Regions from separate parts of the Homo sapiens genome. Here all the other regions are linked to region 1. The links are contacts of gene promoters, found by promoter capture Hi-C in human tissues and cell types (Jung and others, 2019). All regions are on one chromosome and are shown on one strand. The core of a region is centred on a gene start or on the middle of the fragment in contact, and the rest is flanking DNA. Distances in the headings are between cores, read along the strand shown. Region 1 holds the start of KCNK1 (potassium two pore domain channel subfamily K member 1). Region 2 has its middle 120 kb from the start of MIR4427. Region 3 has its middle 110 kb from the start of SLC35F3.

What was found. The method cuts DNA at HindIII sites, captures the fragments that hold promoters and counts their contacts. A contact is called where the count stands out against the background at its distance.
Region 2: a contact is called between a fragment that was not itself captured here and the fragment with the promoter of KCNK1 in region 1, in 1 of the 25 tissues and cell types used here (neural progenitor cells).
Region 3: a fragment that was not itself captured here is called in contact with the fragment with the promoter of KCNK1 in region 1 in 1 of the 25 tissues and cell types used here (mesendoderm cells).

What each region holds. Positions count from the first base shown.
Region 1 is chr1:233,612,759-233,615,458 of GRCh38, forward strand. It overlaps KCNK1 (potassium two pore domain channel subfamily K member 1), which reads left to right and starts at 1,348. Exons shown (of 3, transcript NM_002245.4): 1 at 1,348-1,768. The coding sequence starts at 1,414. RefSeq lists enhancers at 474-1,126, 2,315-2,374 and silencers at 915-1,014, 1,375-1,444, 1,785-1,844. The HindIII fragment of the contact is 20,351 bases long and covers 1-2,700 here.
Region 2 is chr1:233,741,217-233,743,916 of GRCh38, forward strand. No RefSeq gene overlaps it. Among named protein-coding and RNA genes, the nearest start is that of MIR4427, 120 kb to the left of the region's middle. The HindIII fragment of the contact is 3,831 bases long and covers 1-2,700 here.
Region 3 is chr1:233,795,039-233,797,738 of GRCh38, forward strand. No RefSeq gene overlaps it. Among named protein-coding and RNA genes, the nearest start is that of SLC35F3, 110 kb to the right of the region's middle. The HindIII fragment of the contact is 3,969 bases long and covers 1-2,700 here.

The DNA of each region.
Region 1 (2,700 bases), core at 98-2,597:
AGTTGATTAATAATGCAGATGTCATTTTATTTTGTAACAAAATACAAATATTTTACATATTTGAGATTCTACACAGTTTTGCTTCAATAGTCTTTAGACACAACTTTAATGTGTTTAATGTCTATATGGTGTCCATGCTGTAGAGATGCCATAACTTATTTAACCATTCTCTATTTTGGAATATTTAGATTGTTCTGAGTCTTCATTATTTCATCTATACCGTGTGTGTGTGTGTGTGTGTGTGTGTGTCCCACATGTGTATGCACTATATTATACAACTACATGTATGTATATATAGATACCGTCTATGACCAGTCTTTGTAAGTAAGTGCCTCTCTGATTGTTTTTTCTTAGGACATATCACTGAATCAGAACAAATAAACCCTTTCAAGGTTCTTGAGACGTGTCGCTAAATTGCCTTTCCAGAAAGGGTGTACCAATTTTTATTTTCATCCACAAGCAGGCGGCTCGCTGACCCTCGCCCACATTTTTGTCACTTTAAAAAGAAGTGACAGTTGGGAAAGCTCAGTTTCTTCTGGCAGTTGACACATTTGGGATGTTTTTTCACCAAAAAACCTAAGGTCATGTTTTAGAAAATTCGAACTCAGAAATAGGACTTCTCTGAGACTCTCCTTTTCCCTCAAGTCCTTTTTGTGAGGGGGATGGGTGGGAGAGAGGAGACTGATTCAAGGAGCCTTCCAACTCTGATGTTCTGGTATTTTCACCGTCATTACTGGCACCAGATTGCTCAATCCTTCGACCAATAAGACAAAGAAGGAAAGTACTTCAGCGCTTGCTGTTTTGTAATACTGGCTTTGATTGGGAGAAAATAAGTGGGAAACAAGAGTAGCTTGGACAGGGGGCTTGGACGGCCAGCGCATTGACCAGAAGCGGCCCACACTACACGCGCGCGAACACACACACACACACACGCACACGCCGCGCGCGGTCAGCTAGAGTTTGGCTACTGGACCCAGGAAGGGAGGGAGCGGGAGGAGCTGGTGGCTGTCGGGTCGGGGTCTGGGCGCCACCGAGCGCCCGCCCCACCTCTGGAGTGCGCAGAAGGCGGTGCGTCCCGGGCCCCGGCAGCCCAGCCCAGGCGCTCTGGCCAAGTTTGCGCGCGGTCTCCGCTGACTCTCGGGTTACCTGAGCCGGCAACCACGTCAGCGCCACATCATCTGGGCTTTTTATATTGCAAGGAAACAGGAAAAGAAGGAAGAAAAACATCGCCCGAGAGAGCCAATCGCAGGAAGACGGCGCTGCCCGGAGGAGCGGGGCGGGCGGGCGCGCGGGGGAGCGGGCGGCGGGCGGGAGCCAGGCCCGGGCGGGGGCGGGGGCGGCGGGGCCAGAAGAGGCGGCGGGCCGCGCTCCGGCCGGTCTGCGGCGTTGGCCTTGGCGGCGGCGGTGGAGAAGATGCTGCAGTCCCTGGCCGGCAGCTCGTGCGTGCGCCTGGTGGAGCGGCACCGCTCGGCCTGGTGCTTCGGCTTCCTGGTGCTGGGCTACTTGCTCTACCTGGTCTTCGGCGCAGTGGTCTTCTCCTCGGTGGAGCTGCCCTATGAGGACCTGCTGCGCCAGGAGCTGCGCAAGCTGAAGCGACGCTTCTTGGAGGAGCACGAGTGCCTGTCTGAGCAGCAGCTGGAGCAGTTCCTGGGCCGGGTGCTGGAGGCCAGCAACTACGGCGTGTCGGTGCTCAGCAACGCCTCGGGCAACTGGAACTGGGACTTCACCTCCGCGCTCTTCTTCGCCAGCACCGTGCTCTCCACCACAGGTAGGGTATCCTGCGCGCCCCCTGGCCGCCCCGGCCACCTCGCCCACAACCCACACACCCCGGCCCCGGCGCCCCGGGCCCCTCTAACCCTCCCACCCCACCCCCCACCTTTCGCCATCCCGGCTCCTCCAGCCCGCCTCCCCTCACTGTCCTCCCGACCCTCCGACCTTCCCCTTACTGGCGTCCCCGGCCTCTGCCTGGGTGACTCGGGAGGGCAAGCCCTGCGGAGCCGGAAGCCAGAGAGGTGACTCCAGACGTGACTTGGTTGTTGCCGTCCGTAACTCTGGGGAAGTGGTCCCTAACTTCGGCCTGGGTGGCTGCAGGTGCTTCCTCCCCTTGAGTTCTTTTTTCGCAACCCACTAAGCCAAACTGTCGGGTTTGAATGTGTAGCAGCACCTGGCCGCCGTGCGGCAAGGCAGCGGGATGATGGAAACTCACCACCTTCCTCCCGCACCCATCCCAGAGGCCGAGGCTGCAGTCTGGTAATAATACCTTCTAAAGGGTCACCTTCCGGAGTGTGCCGTCCCTTTGGACCATGCACAGATATTCCAGCTCTTTTGTACCTTGGAGGCAGTTTTGGGGGTAGCCGAGTGACATCACTCTGCTCTTCCCAGGTGACCTCTGGGCGGACAGGCCGATCCGGTTTCTTTTCAGAGTAGGAGGAAGGGTGAGGGAGAGTAAAGGAACCATAGGATTGCCTAAGATCTGACTTAATTGGGGCACCCTGATTCAGCAGTTCCTTCAACTTGAGGTGTGCGAGGCTCCCCATAAACTTCGAAGCGCCACGTCCCCGTACGACTCACCCGCGGGGCGCCCGGCCATGGAGGAGCCTCCTCAGGTGAAAGATGAGGCCGGGCGCATGCCCCAGGGCTCGGTCACTGTGCCAGATCAGATGAATGAAGGCCGAATTTCCCCAGCCGGACCTAGTAAGG
Region 2 (2,700 bases), core at 127-2,626, 130 kb after region 1:
ATATCTATTTTTGAGACAAAGTCTCACTCTGTTGCCCAGGCTGGAGTGCAGTAGTGTGATCTTGGCTCACTGCAACCTCTACCTCCTGAGTTCAAGTGATTTTCCTGCCTCAGCCTCCCTAGTAGCTGGGACTACAAGCGTGCACCACCACACCTGGCTAATTTTTATTTATTTTTTATTTTTTTATTTTTATTTTTTTTTATTTAGTAGAGACATGGTTTCACCATGTTGGCCAGGCTGGTCTCAAACTCCTGACCTCAAGTGATCTGCCCACCTTGGCCTCCCAAAGTGCTAAGATTGCAGATGTGATTCACCCCACCAAGCCTAAATATTGATTATAGGAGTTCTCTATACATTTTGGATATATATTCTGGATATATTCCTGAACATATGTCAGATACATGTATTGCAAGAATTTCACTCTGTGTCTCACCTTTTATTTTCTTAATGGTGTCAAAAAAGATATTTTTGATTTGATGAACTGCAATTGACTAATAATTTTTATTTTACAGTTAGTGCTTTTGATGGCCCACCTAAGAAATTTTTGCCTACTCAAAGCTGCATAGATAGTCTCTGCTTTCATCTATAAGTTTTCGAGCTTCATGTTTAAGCTTATGATCCATCCCCAAGTAATTTTTGTTCATAGTCTAAAATAGAGATCATGGATCACATTTTCCTATATGTTTATTTGATTATTGTAGCTTTGTTTGTTGAAAAGACTTTTGTTTTTGAATTGCCTTGGTGCCTTCTTTTGTTGAAAATTAATTGAATATGTGAGTCTATTTCTGGACTCTTCCAGTAGCATTAATCTACTTGTCTGTCTTATATCAGTATCAAACTATCTTAAATACTGTAGTATTATAATTAGTGCTTAAATCAATTGGAGTAAGTTCTACTGAGTTCTTTTTCAAGATTCTTTTGGCTAATTTAGAACCTTAGCATTTTCATATACATTTTAGAATGAACTTAATAGCTACCAAAAAAAGCTACTGGGAATAAGGTAGTGATTGTATTGAACCAGTAGCTTTGGGGAAAATTGACATACTAAAAATACTGCCTTTCAATCCATGATGTTATATATGTCCTTTTACTTAGAGCTTTTTAAAATTTCTCTCTACACTTTTTGCACGCATTTTGTACTTTTTAGCATACAGGTCTTGCTTGTCTTTTGTTAATTTTATTCTTAAGCATTTAATTTTTAAATAATTTTATAAAAGGTACCACTTTTAAATCTTAATCTCTAATTGTGCCTATTATGTAGAGTGCAATAAATTTTTTTATCTTGACCTTGTATCATGCAATCATGTTAAATTCACTTAATTCTAGTGGTTGCTATGTAGATTTCTTAGCATTACTTATGCACATGACCATGTCATCTATGAATAAAGTTTATTTCTATTTTCTAATCTTAATGCCTTTTATTTATTTTCCTTCTCTTTTACTGATTAGGATCCCATTCCACTCTTGAATAGAAGTTATGGAATTGGATATACTTATCCAAAGATTGTTCCTGGTCTTTGGGCAAAGCATTCAATAGTTCACCATTTTGTATGATGTAGGTTTTCATAGAGGTTCTTTTTTTTTTTTTTTTTTTTTGAGACAAGGTCTCCCGTGTCACCCAGACTGGAGTACAGTGGCATGATTGTGGCTCACTGCAGTCTCAAACTTCTGTACTCAAGCAAACCTTCTGCATCAGCCTCCCGAGTAGCTAGGACAATAGATGCGCGCCACCATGGCTGGCTAATTTCTTTTGTAGAGACAGGTCTCGCCGTGTTTCCCAGGCTGGTCTCAAACTCTTAGCCTCAAGTGATTCTCCCAGCTCAGCCTCCCAAAGTGCTGGGATTACAGGTGTGAACCATTGCACCAAGGCTCAAATTATTTTCTAATTTGTCTTGTGATTTCTTCTTTGACCTATATCAGTTATTTAAAAAATGTGTTGCTAAATTTCTAAATATTCTTCAATTTTCTAGATATCTTATTATAATTTAATACCATTGTGATCACAGAGCATACTCTGTATTATTTTGATCCTTTGAAATGTATTTCATGATCCAGCATGTAATCTATCTTGGAGAATGTTTCAAGTGAATTTAAAAAGGATGTTTACTCTCCGGTTGTTGGGTGCAATGTTCTATAAATTTCAATCAGATCAGGTCGATTATTAGCGCTGCTAAAATCTTTTATATCCCTATTGGTTTTTCTAGGTAAGTGCTCTATCAATTACTGAGATAGGTGGGGTTTTAAAATATCCCATCATAATTGTGTGATTGTTCTTTTCTCCCTTCAGTTCTGCTGATTTCTGCTTTGTGGCACACTTATTAGATGCACAGGCATGTAGGATTTTTGTCATCTTCTTAATGAATTCAGCCTTTCATTATTACTAAAGACCCCTCATTGTTTTAAAGTCTATAATGTTAGGTATTAATATAGACACAGCAGCTTTCTTTTGCATAGTGTTTTAAATTTTTAAAAATTTTCCTGGTGATTTCTTCTTTGACCCATGAGCTTCTTTTGAAGACTGTTGCTTCCTTTCAAATGTCCTTATTATTGATTTCAAGTATAATTATGTTGTAATCGAAGAATATATGTGTTATATGAATTCAGTCCTCTGAAATTTACTGGGACTTATTTCATTGCCCAACATAGGGTCTATCCAAGAGATAGACTGGAAAAGACCCTGATCTTGTTGTATGGGCATGG
Region 3 (2,700 bases), core at 153-2,652, 180 kb after region 1:
TACATCAACACCATAGAATACTATGCAGCCATAAAAAAGAATGAGATAATATCCTTTACAGGAACCTGGATGAAGCTGGAGGTCATTATCCTTCACAAACTAATGCAGGAATAGAAAACCAAATACCACTTGTTCTCAATTATAACTGGGAGCTAAATGATTAGAACACATGGACACATAGAGGGAAAGAATATATACTGGGGCTCACCAGAGAGTGGAGGGTGGGAGGAGGGAGAGGATCAGGAAAAAGAACTAATGGGTACTAGGCTTAATACCTGGGTGACAAAATTATCTGTAAAACAAACCCCCAGGACACAAATTTACCTATATAACAAATCTGCATATGTACCCCTGAACTTAAATAAAAGTTAACAAACCCCACAAATCCCTACATGAAAAGACAGGGCTAATTAGCTAATTGGTAGTAATACTATTAGCAGTGTTTACTGAGTGCTTGTATCAGCCAGACACTGGTCTCAGAGCTTGAGATGCTTTAGCTCATTAAGTTAATTGGCCCATGAGTTGGGTACCATTACTGCCCTCCACCTTACAAACAGTGAACCTGAAGCAGAAAGAGTTTAACCTCAAGGTCACCCTGGTGGACATCTTGGATTTTGAATATAGGCTTTATGGTTCCATCTTGTATGCTTTGAAGCATCCCACTGCCCCTCTCACAGGATAAGGCAGGAATCACCCCCTTTGGTGTTGTGAGGACACTCAGGCCAGCCTGTGTTGCTATAGATAAATACCTGAGGCTTCATGATTTATAAAGAAAATAGGTTTATTTTGTTCTTCAGGCTGTACATGAAGCTTGGCACCAGTCTCTGCTTCTTCTGAGGACCTCAGGAAGTTGTAGCAGAAAAGGCAGGGAAGCTGGTGGGCCACATGATGAAGAAGGGAGCAAGAGAGAGGGGGATGGTCCCAGGCTATTTTGAACAATCAGCTGTACATTTTGGGGTGAACTGACTACACAGAAATTTATAGATGATCTTTCTTACTGTGAGAGTGGTTATGCACAAGGACTCTGTTCCTAGCTGAGCCATCACAGTACTTGCAGAGAGGCCAAACACTGGTACTCAAGGTTGTGTCTTTTTTAATGTCACACAGTCTCTCGTGTGGGTGAGGACTTAGTTGCCAAAGAGAGAAAAATTTTGTTGAGTCTCTGATTGGCAACTTTACCAATAAGGACACTTGAAAGCATGTTTTTTAACCCTGTGGTTGAAATGGCCTAGACACACCATGTTTGCCTCTGTCCAGGGATGTGGTCTGTTGAGCAGGTTTCATGTTCTGCTTCACTGCCTTCCAGTTCTCTATCACCAGCCCATTAGCTTTTGTCAGCTGGAGGATCCACACGGATGCCCACACACTGGGCTTCCCAGATGAGCTGCCTTCAAAGGCTGCTGCTGCTGCCTTTAGAAATGTATGAGTCCCTTCTGTCATCCTTCCCAAGATGGTGCATGGCAAGGCCCGTGGTTGTTGTGAAAGAAATATGTAGAATGAATGGTTGGCAAGGCAGCATTCCTTACTCTCTCACCACTTCCAATAAATCACATTCACATGACAGTTTCCACAATGAGAAATGGGAAATCATAGTTTCTCCAGCTTGCTTTTCTGTCTTAAGGAATGTTAGAGAGACGCTACTTGCAAAATGAAGTCGTCTCTTGGTGTCTACAGGGAATTCGTTCCAGGAGGAGGCTCAAGTCCCTTATGTAAAATGACATGGCATTTACATATAACCTACTCACATCCTTTTGTATACTTTAAATCATCTCTATATGACATAATACCAATACAATGTAAATGCTATGTAAATACTTGTTATATTGCATTTTTAATTTGTATTATTTTTTATTGTTATTAAAAAAAATTTTTTTTTTCTAATGTTTTTGACCTATGGTTGTTTGAATCCATGGCTGCAGAAACTGAGGATACCGAGGGCTGAGTATACTTAGGGTTACCTTAGGAAAATGTGCCTGGGGCACTTTCAACATAAGTGTTTATGATTTTGGAGGATTTACTTTTACCAGGCAAACTTAAACTGATCCATATCCCAGAGCCAATCAGAAGTTAAAGGAGGCCCAGAGAAAATCATAAGAAGAAAATCATAAGAAAAATGTGGGCCCCTTCCTGCCACATAACTCTTCTGCATACTTCTTCTAGGGCCACCGTCAGTGGTGGCTGCCCCCAGAGGTGGGATCCCACCTGTGGCAGGGTCTTAAATCCCCTGAATCTGACTGCAGCCCCGTCCTGGGTTGCTTCATGGCCTTTGCCATCTTCCTTTCAAGACCTCATCTCACAGCTGGCATCAAAGAAAAGGTTTCCTTGCTTTTTTGGCCTTGCAAATGCTTCTCTCCCTGATATAGACACCCCTTCACTTTTCCTCACTGTTTCTAGGTTCTTTAGTCATCCCAAAGGGCAAGCCTGCTATGTGTTCAGGTGTAGCTTTGCCAGGGAGGTGCCTTTAGTTTAAGGGTCAAAGGCATAAAGGTCTACAGTAGGAGTTAATCTGGCTTGGATGCTGGGCAAAATTTCTTTTTTTTTTCTTTACTTTTTTTTTTTTTTTTTAAGTTCCAGGCTACATGTGTAGGATGTTCAGGTTTGTTACCTAGGTAAACGTGTGCTATGGTGGTTTGCTGCACCTATCAACCCAGGCAAAATTTCATAGAGGGGCAATTTCTGGGTTTTCTAAAGCTGGCCAAC